Linked DNA regions of Homo sapiens: all the other regions are linked to region 1. Evidence: promoter capture Hi-C in 16 types of primary human blood cells and fetal thymus (Javierre and others, 2016). All regions are on one chromosome and are shown on one strand. The core of a region is centred on a gene start or on the middle of the fragment in contact, and the rest is flanking DNA. Distances in the headings are between cores, read along the strand shown. Region 1 holds the start of UBL4B (ubiquitin like 4B). Region 2 holds the start of LOC105378899 (a long non-coding RNA gene). Region 3 holds the start of LAMTOR5 (late endosomal/lysosomal adaptor, MAPK and MTOR activator 5).

Region 1 (4,032 bases), core at 890-3,389:
TTTCTGAGACAGAGTCTCGTTCTGTCACCCAGGCTGGAGTGCAGTGGAGTGATCTCGGCTCACTGCAACATCTGCCTCCCGGTTTCAAGCGATTCTCCTTCCTCAGCCTCCCGAGTAGCTGGGATATTAGGTGCGCGCCACCACGCCCGGCTAATTTTTGTATTTTTAGTAGAGACGGGGTTTTACCATGTTGGTCAGGCTGATCTTGAACTCCTGACCTCACGATCTGCCCGCCTCAGCCTCCCAAAGTGCTAGGATTACAGGCATGAGCCACCGCGCCCGGCCCCATGGGTATCTTCACCAGCTGCTCTTGGCTGCCAGCTTCCAAAGACAGGGACAGAGCTTGCAGCCACCTTTGGGCGGAGTTCAGGGCTGGGTGCTGTGGAAGGGCAGTTCAGGAAAGTCCAAGGATGTTGACAACAGCATCATGCCACTGTAGCTTCCAGGCAGGTGGAAAAGGAAAGGAGGTTAGGTGGGAGGGAGGGAGAAGGTGAGTGAGAAGAAGGGCACAGTCGAGCACAGAGCTGGTGAGAGTTGAGGGGATCCCTGACAAAATCAGCCCACTGGCTGCGAGACGTTATTCAGGTCTTCTCCAAAGTTGCTCAGTTCTAAAATGAGACAATACTTTCCTCCCAGGCTAAATTGTGACAACATATATAAAGGGCTTGACCCAGAAGGCCTTCAGCAATGTGTTGCACTGAAAACTGCCAAATGCTGCAGAAGTTGCAGACACAGAGGAGGCCCAATCAGTGTCCTTTTTCATATTCACCTTTGAGCCGGGGGTGCCTGCTCAGGGCCTGGGCCACAAAAGGCACTGAGCAGAGATTTGTTTAGGAGGCAACATGAGGTAACAGTGAAGACAAGAGCAATTCTGCCTGCTTGCTGTAGGATCAGCCAAGCCTCCACTTTCTCCTCTGGCAGATGGAGATCATGGCAGTGCCTGCCTCATAGGTTGAGAGGATTCAATTAGGCAGGCCTGTGATGCAGATGCTGTGGGCTGTCCTGCCCCATCCCCTCAGCACTCACATTCCTGAGGGCCCGATGGCTTCCTACTTTTCTGTGGTCACAGGAGCATGCTGCTTAACACCTGTGGACCAGAAGTGCCAAGGAGGTAGCACTTCTATTAGCCAAAGACAGGAGTCAGAGCATAAAGATGCAGGTTCGGCCAGGTGCGGTGGCTCACGCCTGTAACCTCAGCACTTTGGGAGGCCAAAGCAGGCAGATTGCTTGTGTCTGGGAGTTTGAGATCAGCCTGGGCAGCATGGAGAAACCCATCTCTACTAAAAATACAAAAATTAGCCAGGCATGGTGGCGTGCAGCTGTAGCCCCAGTTACTTGGGAGGCTGACACAGGAGAATTACTTGAACCCAGGAAACGGAGGTTGCAGTGAGCCGAGATCATGCCACTGCACTCCAGCCTGGGCAACAGAGTGAGACCCTGTCTCAAAAAACAAAAAAAAAAACAAAAAAACCACACCTGGTGCAACTCAGGTGTGTTCCATGCAACCTCCCAGAACTCCCCAGCAGGATAACATACTAGTTGCCCACAATGGCAACCTGCTCATGAATGCACGTTTTGATTTCCCTCCCGTCCTCATCTCACATCCTCACTCCCCTCCTGGTGCCTCCTGGGATCACCTCCTAATTGAGTACTTGTTCTCAAATCCCTGTCTCAGTGTCTGCTGCTGGAAAGCCCAATCCAAAAGAGCGTGTAAAGTGCTTGACAGAAAGAGGACGCTTGATAAATGCTAGCCAGCTCACTAGTGTGAAAGTGTCATGAAGGCAGAAGTCATCCATCTGAATATGACTGTCTCCCCAGGTCCAGGTGCTGGCACAGAGGTGGCACCTAATACACATGTGTTGAAGAAATCAATAGACATGCTCCTCCCACCACCCTGTCCTTTCCCTCCCTCCCTTTCCCTAGTCTCACTCTCATTTCCCCCAGTCCCACATTTTCTTTCCTAGTGCTCTTTTTCTCCTCTCGTGGAGGAAGGATGCTCTGGGCCCAAATACCCCTTTGCTGTCCCAAAAGTTCCACTCTGGAAATGAGCCCCCCCGCAGCATTGTGACATCACCGTGCACTAGCCAATGGCTGCCTGCCTAAGCTGGGTCCCTGGTCTCCTGGGACTACTAGCCCTTTGTTGATAGGGAGAAGCCAACATCTCCCGCAGGACCCCCTAATCTTCAGGGCAGCTCCCAGAGCATGGATCCCTCCTGATTCCACTCAGCCCGATGTTCCTCACAGTCAAGCTGCTCCTGGGCCAGAGATGCAGTCTGAAGGTGTCAGGGCAAGAGAGTGTAGCCACGCTGAAGAGACTGGTGTCCAGGCGGCTGAAGGTGCCTGAGGAGCAGCAGCACCTGCTTTTCCGTGGCCAGCTCCTGGAGGATGACAAGCACCTCTCTGACTACTGCATTGGGCCCAATGCCTCTATCAATGTCATCATGCAGCCCTTGGAGAAGATGGCGCTAAAGGAGGCCCACCAGCCGCAGACCCAGCCCCTGTGGCACCAGCTGGGACTGGTCCTAGCTAAACACTTTGAACCACAGGATGCCAAGGCCGTGCTGCAGCTGCTAAGGCAGGAGCACGAGGAGCGCCTGCAGAAGATAAGCCTGGAGCACCTGGAGCAGCTGGCCCAGTACCTCCTGGCAGAGGAGCCTCACGTGGAGCCAGCTGGAGAGAGGGAGCTTGAGGCGAAGGCACGGCCTCAGAGCTCCTGTGACATGGAGGAGAAGGAGGAGGCAGCAGCTGATCAGTAAACGGGCCATCCTACCCATTTGCATGCTAAAATTCTCCCGGCCTCATCCTTACGTGTTCCCTGGTGACTTTTCCTACTACTTCCTGCTGATGTGGATGCGTCCACACCCCTTTTTGAACCTTCCAAGCAGCTGGAGGGTTTTTGGATCCCTGTCCCCTCTTGGGCCTGAGGTCCTCCCTCTGAAATGCAGAGTGAACCAACCCTCATCACCATGCTTCCCCTAGAAGGGTTCTGATCACCGGAGGGCAGCCCCAAAGGCCACAGTCCCCTCCTGTGCTGGCAGCTTTGCCCACACATACCCAGCAGCTCCCCAGGCTGAAAGCAGCCCTGGCCCAGGGTCTCCATGGTTCTAGGCAGACCCTCTTTCTCCTTCGGGACAGAAAGACAATGTGAGTTCATTTTCCTCCATCCTCAGACCGTGACATCTCCCCTAGGCTCCCCAGCAGCCAAGAGGAGAGGAATGTCAGGTAGCTGCCCCTTGCCTTCTGGGTGAGGCTGCCCCTGCTGTTCTCCTGCTTGTGCTTCCAGCTTAAGGGACAGGCACAGCAGAGGTGAGAGTGGGAGGAGGGCACGTACCGGGTGCCAGCCCTGGAGCCCTCAGGGAGACAGACACAGACCAAGAATAGCAGGAAACTGAGCCTCAGGCAGAAAAAAAGTTCAGCAAAGTCATACACTCCCTGTGGCCAGCGTGAACAGAGCCATGCCCCACCCTCCCAGACTGATCAGTCAGTAGGTATCACAGCTCACATTACCTGCCCAGCGCTGCCCAAGGCTCCCTGGAAGGAAAAATGGTATCTGTCAATGAGGATCCTTGCCCTCACAGAGCACGCAGCCTAGATGCAGAGAGCTGCTATACATGTGAAAAGTAAAGTGGTGACATGAAACTAGAGTCTAGTGTGTGTGACTGAATGCACGGGGCCTCACGGGGCCCTGGGTTCAGCATAGAGGGGCCAGTCCCCTGCAGACTACGAGGAAAGCCAGGCCCTTTACTCTGTTCTTTGAGTGAGAGAGTGGCCCTTGCAGAGGCTGAGGAGTCCCCACACTCTGTGTGTGAGTGGGAGGGAGTGGGGAGCTGTGGTCCCCCATTCACTGCTGAAGCCCCTGAAATGCTGTTATTGCAAAAGTTTCAGTCCTGAGTGATGGGGATGGAGGGAAGGGGTGGAGGAGAATGTCTTGAACAAGCAGGGCCCCCTTCCCTAGGAAGCATCCTGTCCTTGGCCTGCAGGGCCCCTCATCCTCTCTTCCAGTCCGAGTCCAGCTGTGTGGCCATGGGTAAC
Region 2 (4,032 bases), core at 545-3,044, 360 kb after region 1:
GTCTAGTTTCCACCTTCTTCCTCTGGACATGCGGGGTGGCATGTGTCAAATTTATAAATATGGTTTTGGAGAGGCCTTTGGATTATCTCAATCTTTAAAATCTTTTTATTTAGACATAATTTCAAACTTGCAGAAAGAGTTCTTACATACCTTAACCCAAATATCAGAAATGTTGACACCTCACCACATTTGCATTATTTTTCTGTCCGCTATTCCTCCCTCTCCCCTTCCCCTCTGCTTTTCTCTCTCTCACTCTCTCTAGGTATTAAAATATATATTATATTATATAATATGTAATATATTTATATATTTTATGTATAAAAATAAAACTTAAATATATATAAAATATATAATTATTGATATTTAATACATAAGTATAAAGAAAACACATAGCTATATAAATTATATAGAACATATATGTATGTTTTTCTTCCCCTGGATCTTTTAGGAAGCAAGTTGCAGACATAATACTCTTTTTTTTTTTGAGACGAAGTTTTGCTCTTGTTGTCCAGGCTGGAGTGCAATGGCGCGATCTCGGCTCACTGCAACCTCCACCTCCTGGGTTCAATCAATTCTCCTGCCTCAGCCTTCCAAGTAGCTGGGATTACAGGCACCCACCACCACGCCTGGCTAATTTTGTATTTTTAGTAGAGACCGGGTTTCACCATGTTGGCCAGGCTGGCCTTGAACTCCTGACCTCAAGTGATCCACCTGCCTCAGCCTCCTAAAGTGCTGGGATTACAGGCGTGAGCCACTGTGCCCGGCCTGACATAATACTCTTTACTTCAGTATTCCCCCCAAATCAAGGACATTTTCTTGTAAATATTAACATGAAAATTGGTACAAATATCGAAGTCAGGAAATTAATATCAGAACAATACTATCATCTGATGTAGACTATTTTGCCAATTGTCCTAATCATGCCCTTTACAGCAAAAGGAACATTGTTTTGGATTCTCTCTTGACACACAGGCAAGGGTGGGCTAGAGCCATGGCCAGCAGCCAGGAGGCTGGGTAGCCTCGGTCTTCCTCCCCGTGGTGGAGTCCAGTGGAGGCTCTACACCGCACCCTGGGCGAGAGAGAAAAGCCTGCCTGGTCCCGCCGGCGGCTGCCCAGGAGGAAAGTAGCCTTCATCCCCTGCTTTCCACTCGGCACCTTCTCTGCTTCCAGACATCTGCCCCCATCTCCACGGTGCCTGCTGGGCACTGTAGCAACAAAAATGCAAGTGTCAGCTCCGGCTTTGTGTTGTCACCATCCAGGGCCCTCATTCTAGAGTCATGCTACCTGAGTCTGAATCCTGGGCCTGCCCCTTACTGACTGTGTGATCTTGGGCAGGTTATTGAACTGATCTGTGCTTCGGTTCCCTTAAAATGAGACAGATAGTACCTCATTTACAGGATTGTGGTGGTGTGTGGCTGGGAAGAAGTGATTTTATACATGTAAAGGGCTTAGGATGCTGCCTGGTCAGTGGCCATGCTTGCCAACATTCATTGTTATGTGATCAAGCTTGATGCTTTGCTGAGGGGGCAGCTGGATCTCTCCTCACCACTTCCCAAATTAGCTTGAAATGTTAGTGGCAGGAGCATCATGAAACTGATGTCTAGTCCTCTAGTTGGGAGCATCAAAGAGGGTCCAGACTAGGGGGAGGAGGATCTCCCAGGGGTCATCTCATCTCTCACTCTGTATCTAAGTCAGCATCTCAGTGTTACCTTGATCAGTGCAGCACCTGTCAGCTGAGTTTCCCGGCTAGATCTGCCTAGGGATGTGCTAGATGCTCCCCAGGACTAGCCCCATTATATCCCTTCTAGCCAGCTGTTCTGAAATTTATACCTGGGGTTTGTTTTAATTAGGTATGGTAGGACATGCAGACATGGACATGATTGTCATGAAGGAAGAAGTTTATACTTACAGACCCCTAGACATAGGAGGCATGTAGGGCCACATTGGGAAGCACTGGGGTCAGTCAGGAGGTGGAGGTTGGGGGGGAGTTGTCTGGGGTGGTCAAGGGAAAGGAAATTGTGACATAGAGCCTTTATTGCATTATTACATGAAGGAATGGGTGACACAGGGTAGGTATTCTGAGTAAGCTTAGAATTGTATAGTTTGAGTAATTTCAGCGGACTCTGGGCTGGAGGAGTGGTATTTGACCCTGGGGTGGTTTAGGGCAGGGAGAAAATTGGCTTGCTTTTTGAGAGTTTGATAAAGGAGAGGGTTGGGGGTGTGGGCTGTGGGTGGGTTGGTTCGTATATCAAAGACAGGCTCACAGGGGAGTCTTTCGCCATGCCTAGGAATTAGCTAGTCCTGTGAGGGCAGTCTCTCAAGGATCAAGGCCCCAGATGCCAGAGCATCAAGAATATGGAAAATCAGAGAACATGATCAATATACCAGCTCATCCCTGGATGAAGCTCCCTGCCTTTCCTCATACAGGCGAGTGCTCTACTCTCCCTTCCCCAGTAGCACTGGTCCGTAAGCCAAGGAAAGGACTCATGCATTGAATTATACTTAGTTGCCTACACGTCTGTGTGTTCCACTGGACTACAAGCTCCCTGAGGGCAGGGAGAGGAGCTTACTCACCTCTACATGCTCAGTGCTTGGCACAAGGGCCAGGTGACCTCATTGGCAGAGGAGGAGGTGTTGCTGTGGTGGGCCACAGGCCACTGACTGTCCATATGTGGGTCACGTGGGCACTTACTCCCTGATTTCAGCCACTGGAGACCTCTTTTGGGAAGGAAGTCCCATGGCCTCATTTGCTTACTTCTGTATATAGCTGTTGAGTGAATGGGAGGATGAATTTAACATTTACTGAGTGCTTATTTTAGGTCAGGCATTGTTCTAGGTGTTTAGAGTTACAGAGAAAATTCAGACAAAATTCCTGCCCTAGAGTTCTTAGTCCAGAGGGAGGCTGATGTGTAAGCCATCACTGAGCAGTGAGATAAGCACTCTGAGAACATCCCAGACCGAGGAGCAAACTGCGCTGGTGGTGGAGTGGGTGGTTACTGCAGACAATGTGGGTGGGCTCAACAGAACCTGATTGTCTGCTTCCACTATACAGACAAAAAAGTGCAATCCTCAATTTTCCGGCCTACCTTGTAGCTGGGAGCTATAAAATGAAGTTCATCAGGCATGAGCGGTCTGCTGGTACTGCTTCTTCCCGCTTCCCCTTCTTCTTGCTTTGGGATGGGATGCGATGTTTGCTGCTGTAACAGCCATTTGCAGCCATAAGGAAAAGGCCAAATGAATTGCAGTGGTGTCCATTGAACCAATTCTGTATTTTTCTGGACTTCTTGTTTTGTGAGAAAAATAAACTGCTATTTAAACCACTGTAGTCAGATTTTCAATTACTTGCAGCCAAACCCATTCCTAATTGATCTCATAGGAGATATAAGAAAAGGCTTCACACAGGACATATCATTTTCTAAAATTATTTCTTTATTTATTTACAACAGAGATGGGGTCTCATTATATTTCTCAGGCTGGTCTTGAACTCCTGGGCTCAAGTGATCCTCCTGCCTCAGTCTCTCAAATTGTTGGGATTACAGATGTGAGCCACTGAGCCCATGCCCAGCCCATAGGACATATCTTTTGAGCAGAATCTTGAAGAAGATGGGTAGGCAGAAAATAGAGAGAAGGGCATTTGGGCAGAGGTATAGCATAGGTAAAAGCACAGTGAGGGGAGAAGTTGCATGTCACGTTGAAACACATCAAAAAGTATTAGGTAAGTTTCTCCAAGATGGAGAGAGGTGGGGAGGGTGTTCCAATCTCAATGAAGCACTGAGCAGAGTGTGGAGACAGGATCATGCATGTCATGATTGAGGCATGGTGAGTGTTTGTGCCTGGTTCCTGTTTGGGAAGCTGCAGAGATGAGGCTGGGAAAGTGGATGGGGCCAGACTCCTGGTGGTCAGGAGCTTGGTCTGCAGGTCTCTGCTGGTAAAGGCTCCTGAACTGGGAGTGGCCTGATGAGGTCCTGGTTGACCAGCCTATGGGCTTCTGTCTGCTGGGTGCCGCCCTCCCTGCCCAGAGGCCTGCATGGT
Region 3 (4,032 bases), core at 570-3,069, 300 kb after region 1:
ATTTTACTGCCTATTCACTTCTTGTTTAGTGTAGTTGAGCTTCAAAATTGTACACCACCCACCTTGCCGGGTTGTTGTGAAAATTAAAGATAATGTATTTAGAGCCTAGCAGTCTCAGCATATGGCATACATTCAATAAATGGTTAACAGCTGTTATTATCTGAAGTCCTTTCTAGACTCAATTTAAAATGATTCAAATATTATTTTTAGTAGAGACAACTATTTATTGTTATAGGACTGCAAGGAACATCTTCCTTCATAAATACCAACTGAAAAGTTTCAATTTTCTGATACTGTTATTTGGAGATAATCTCTACTCTCAAACTCAGAAAGACCTGGCAAGGTAACAGGAAATAAAAGCTAGAAAATAATAGCACGCTAGGCTCCAAGTCAACATCAGATGCTATGCAATTCATCAAATAGTTGGTATGAGAGATACTTACAACCCAGATTAAGTCCTTGTGAATCTGTGCACAGGACTCCAACAATGGAGGGATTCTTCATTCTAATTCCAGGAACACAAGAGAGTTGAAGTACATAATGGGAGAAAAAGGATTTAAATAAGTACAAACATACAGGTGTTCTATGTACCAGGCATTAAGTGCTTTAAATCAATATTTCTCAATCTTTTTTCATTGTCACACCCTAAGAAAAAAATTAAGTTCTAGGGCCGGGCGCGGTTGCTCACGCCTGTAATCCCAGCACTTTGGGAGGCCCAGGTGGGCGGATCACCTGAGGTCGGGAGTTCAAGACCAGCCTGACCAACATGGAGAAACCCCGTCTCTACTAAAAATACAAAATTAGCCAGGCGTGGTGGCGCATGACTGTAATCCCAGCTACTCGGGAGGCTGAGGCAAGAGAATCGCTTGAACCTGGGAGGCGGAGGTTGCAGTGAGCCGAGATCACGCCATTGCACTCCAGCCTGGAAGACGAGCGAAATTCCGTCTCAAAAAAAGAACACAAAAAATTTAAGTTCTAGTTAATTAATTGAAATAAACCAGTTTCTCTCTGATGAGAGAAAAAAATGTGCTAAGTACTGCTGAGTTCTGGAGGGCCACAAACACTGCGTGAAAAACATCTAGGATGTTTTCACTCTTGTTAAAAACGCATGTTTTAGTACTAACTCATTTAAAACAACTGTTGAAAAACTCAAGTTACCTCCTGGAGGGTAAGTGGAAGCTGAGGGACATCGGTGGGAGGCAGGTGTCTCTCTGTACCCTTTACACTTTTCCAGTTTTGAATTTTACATAGATACTGCTTGTTCGAAAAATTTAAAGAATGATTTTTATCTACTTAAGCACCAAGTAACTGATAGGTTACACACAGGAGATACGTGTTTGTTTACACTGCAGGGCTCGACACTGCACAACTGGCACAATCTTCCCAAAAGTCAACCCGTTTTCTAAAACTTCCGCAGAACCACCCTGACCGTAAAGACGATTTCAACAACGAGATAGGCAGTTTTGGCCCGTGGCCTGGGCCCGGGAGACTCGCTCAAGAGGGAATGTGCGGTGCCCGGCAGGATTTTAATTCCGGGTCACCCGCCCCGCCCTGCGGCCTTGGGTAGAGTTTAGCCCCCTCATCCCGTGTCCCGGGGGTCGCGCGACGTCCCCGAGACGCCCTGGCCGGTACTCGCAGCTCGCGCCTTTCGTTCCGCTCAAGTTCCTCCGCCGCGACCTCAGGACAGGCCGAAGAGGCGCGCACTACTCACGTGTCTTCCAAGTGCTGCTCCAAGGTCGCCTCCATCCCACCCACCGACCACTCCGGCTCAGAACCCAGCGGCACGGCACGTCCTTCTCCACCACAGGCCTCAGTCACTTGACGCGAGCGGGGCGTGGACCGTAACGGCGCCTCCAAAGGGACAAAATTGATCACGGTGCAACGTCCGCGTTCTTTACTGGAAAACATCACTGCGCTTCCGTCGCACAGAGCCTGACGAAGGCTTGGGCTCCCCGCGCGGTGACCGTCGAGGTGACCTGCACCTGGCTCCATGGCGGAACCGGCCGGCACGGATTATTCCCCTCTCGGGAGAGGTCTGCAGCCGGGCCTCAGTGCTTCAGTTCGTGGCCTGGCATTTTGTGTCAGTGTTTTTTAACCTTTGGACCCTAGTTCAACCGACTCCGAGACCTAGGGGACAGATCTTAAGTTTTACAATAACCCAGGGGTCAGACAGGGTCTGATCTAGCCTGTGGGGCAAGTACGGGGAAGACACGGGACCTCTTGGAGGGGGTCAGTAGGCTTGTAGGGGGAAAGACGCACACAGAGACTAAAGGACGAGATGGAGCAAGGTTCAACCCCCTAGCTGAGTGTTGGCAGTGTCGGGATTTTAACGAAGACATTGGTGCTTATTATGGTGAGGGGACTCAGGACAGTTTAGGGGAAGAGAGTGGCATTTGAGTCCTAACTCGTAAGGAAGACTGGGTAGGACTACTTGAAAATAACTTTTAAAAATTAATTATAAAGCTGGTAAAAATAGGAAAACATCTATGGCCCCACTGTCCAAAGACGACTTTTAACTTCTTGGAGAATATCCTTTCAGATAGTTGTCTTTGTAAATGTATACTTTTAATGTTTTTTCGTTTGCCTTTTTAAAATAAATTTTTTGGGGGACAGGGTCTTGCTCTGTTACCCAGGCTGTAGTGCAGTAGAACGATTATAGCTCATTGCAACCCGGACGTCCTGGGTTCAAGCTATCCTCACCTCTCAGCCTCTCGACTGGCTAGGACCACAGCCTCGAGCCATCATGTCTGGCTAATTTTTACGTTTTTTTGTAGAGATGGGGGTCTCGCTGTGTTGTCCAGGCTGGTCTTAAACTCCTTGCTTCAACAGATCCTCCCACTCCAGCCTCCCAAAATGTGATTACAGGCTGAGTCACCACGCCTAGCATGGTTTTTTTTGTTTTGTTTGTTTTGTAAGCAAAATTGACATACATACTGGAGGTACAATTCTGTAGCTGGCCTTCTTTACAGAGTTTAGAATAAATGTCTTTCCATGTCAAGTTTTCACTTACATCCTTTGTAGTAGTTGCAAAATATTCCATTTTATAGCTGTATCTTAATTGTGGATTAAGGTTGGAGTGCAGTGGCACTATCATGGCTTAGTCCAGCCTCAGCCTTCTAGGTTCAAGCGATCTTCCCACCTCAGCCTCCCAAGAAGCTGGGACTACAGGGACCCGCCACCCCACCTAGCTAATTAAAAAAAAAATTGTAGAGATGGAGTCTCAGTGTGTAGCCCAGTCTCAAGTGACCCTCCCTCGTTGGCTTCCCAAAGCGCTGAGATTGCAGGTGAGCCACTGTACTTGGACTTTTTTTTTTTTTTTTGCTTTTGTTTGTTTTTTGTTTTAGCTATTACAATGCTGGTTGAATATCCTCATAGCTAAATATCTGTGCAGTTTTAAAATTTCCTTATAAGTTACTAGAAATGGAATGACTGGGTTAAAGGACATGATCATTTTTTAAGACTCTTGATACATACTTACAAATTGCCTCCCGAAAAAGTGGTGCTAATTTACTCAAATTGGTAAGCCTCACCCCCTCTGTGGATCATTCCTTGCACTAAGTTTCTTCCAACTCTGTCACCTCCAGCTTTTTACTCACAGCCTACCTTCCAATCTGGGGCCCAGCTCCCAGATCGGAAGATACCAGACTTTGGTATTGAACCAAAGTCCAATACACTGCACTGGCATTCAGAGTCCCTTTTTATTCCGCAGCTGTCATAGTGAAGCTTGCAGCTTCCTTGAAATTCCAGTTTGTTTATTTCTTTATTTTTTTGAGACAGAGTCTTGCTCTATCGCCCAGGCTGGAGTGCAGTGGCGCCGTCTCAGCTCACTGCAACCTCTGCCTCCTGGTTCAAGCGATTCTTCTGCCTCAGCCTCCCGAGTAGCTGGGATTACAGGCATGCACCACCACACGTGGCTAATTTTTGTGCTTTTAGTAGAGATGGGGTTTCACCATGTTGGCCAGGCTGGTCTCAAACTCCTGACCTCAAGCGATCCGCCCACCTCAGCCTCCCAAAGTGCTGGGATTATAGGCA

Evidence for each region. Contacts are between HindIII fragments. The CHiCAGO score rates a contact against its expected background, and 5 or more counts as called.
Region 2: a contact is called between a fragment that was not itself captured here and the fragment with the promoter of UBL4B in region 1, in 1 of 17 cell types (fetal thymus). The highest score is 5.3, in fetal thymus.
Region 3: the fragment with the promoter of LAMTOR5 here is called in contact with the fragment with the promoter of UBL4B in region 1 in 8 of 17 cell types (naive CD8 T cells, erythroblasts, M0 macrophages and 5 more); the score reaches 7.9 in naive CD8 T cells.

What each region holds. Positions count from the first base shown.
Region 1 is chr1:110,110,304-110,114,335 of GRCh38, forward strand. UBL4B (ubiquitin like 4B) reads left to right here and starts at 2,140. Exons shown (of 1, transcript NM_203412.2): 1 at 2,140-3,644. The coding sequence starts at 2,232. The coding sequence ends at 2,756. The HindIII fragment of the contact is 8,258 bases long and covers 1-4,032 here.
Region 2 is chr1:110,471,656-110,475,687 of GRCh38, forward strand. LOC105378899 (a long non-coding RNA gene) reads right to left here and starts at 1,991. Exons shown (of 2, transcript XR_947699.2): 1 at 1,910-1,991; 2 at 887-1,205. LOC105378898 (a long non-coding RNA gene) reads left to right here and starts at 2,102. Exons shown (of 2, transcript XR_001738181.1): 1 at 2,102-2,139; 2 at 2,289-2,427. The HindIII fragment of the contact is 581 bases long and covers 1,505-2,085 here.
Region 3 is chr1:110,405,875-110,409,906 of GRCh38, forward strand. It overlaps LAMTOR5 (late endosomal/lysosomal adaptor, MAPK and MTOR activator 5), which reads right to left and starts at 1,820. Exons shown (of 4, transcript NM_001382293.1): 1 at 1,712-1,820; 2 at 444-505. The coding sequence starts at 1,746. LAMTOR5-AS1 (LAMTOR5 and SLC16A4 antisense RNA 1) reads left to right here and starts at 1,935. Exons shown (of 3, transcript NR_102697.1): 1 at 1,935-2,080. RefSeq lists an enhancer at 1,762-1,991. The HindIII fragment of the contact is 8,453 bases long and covers 1-3,721 here.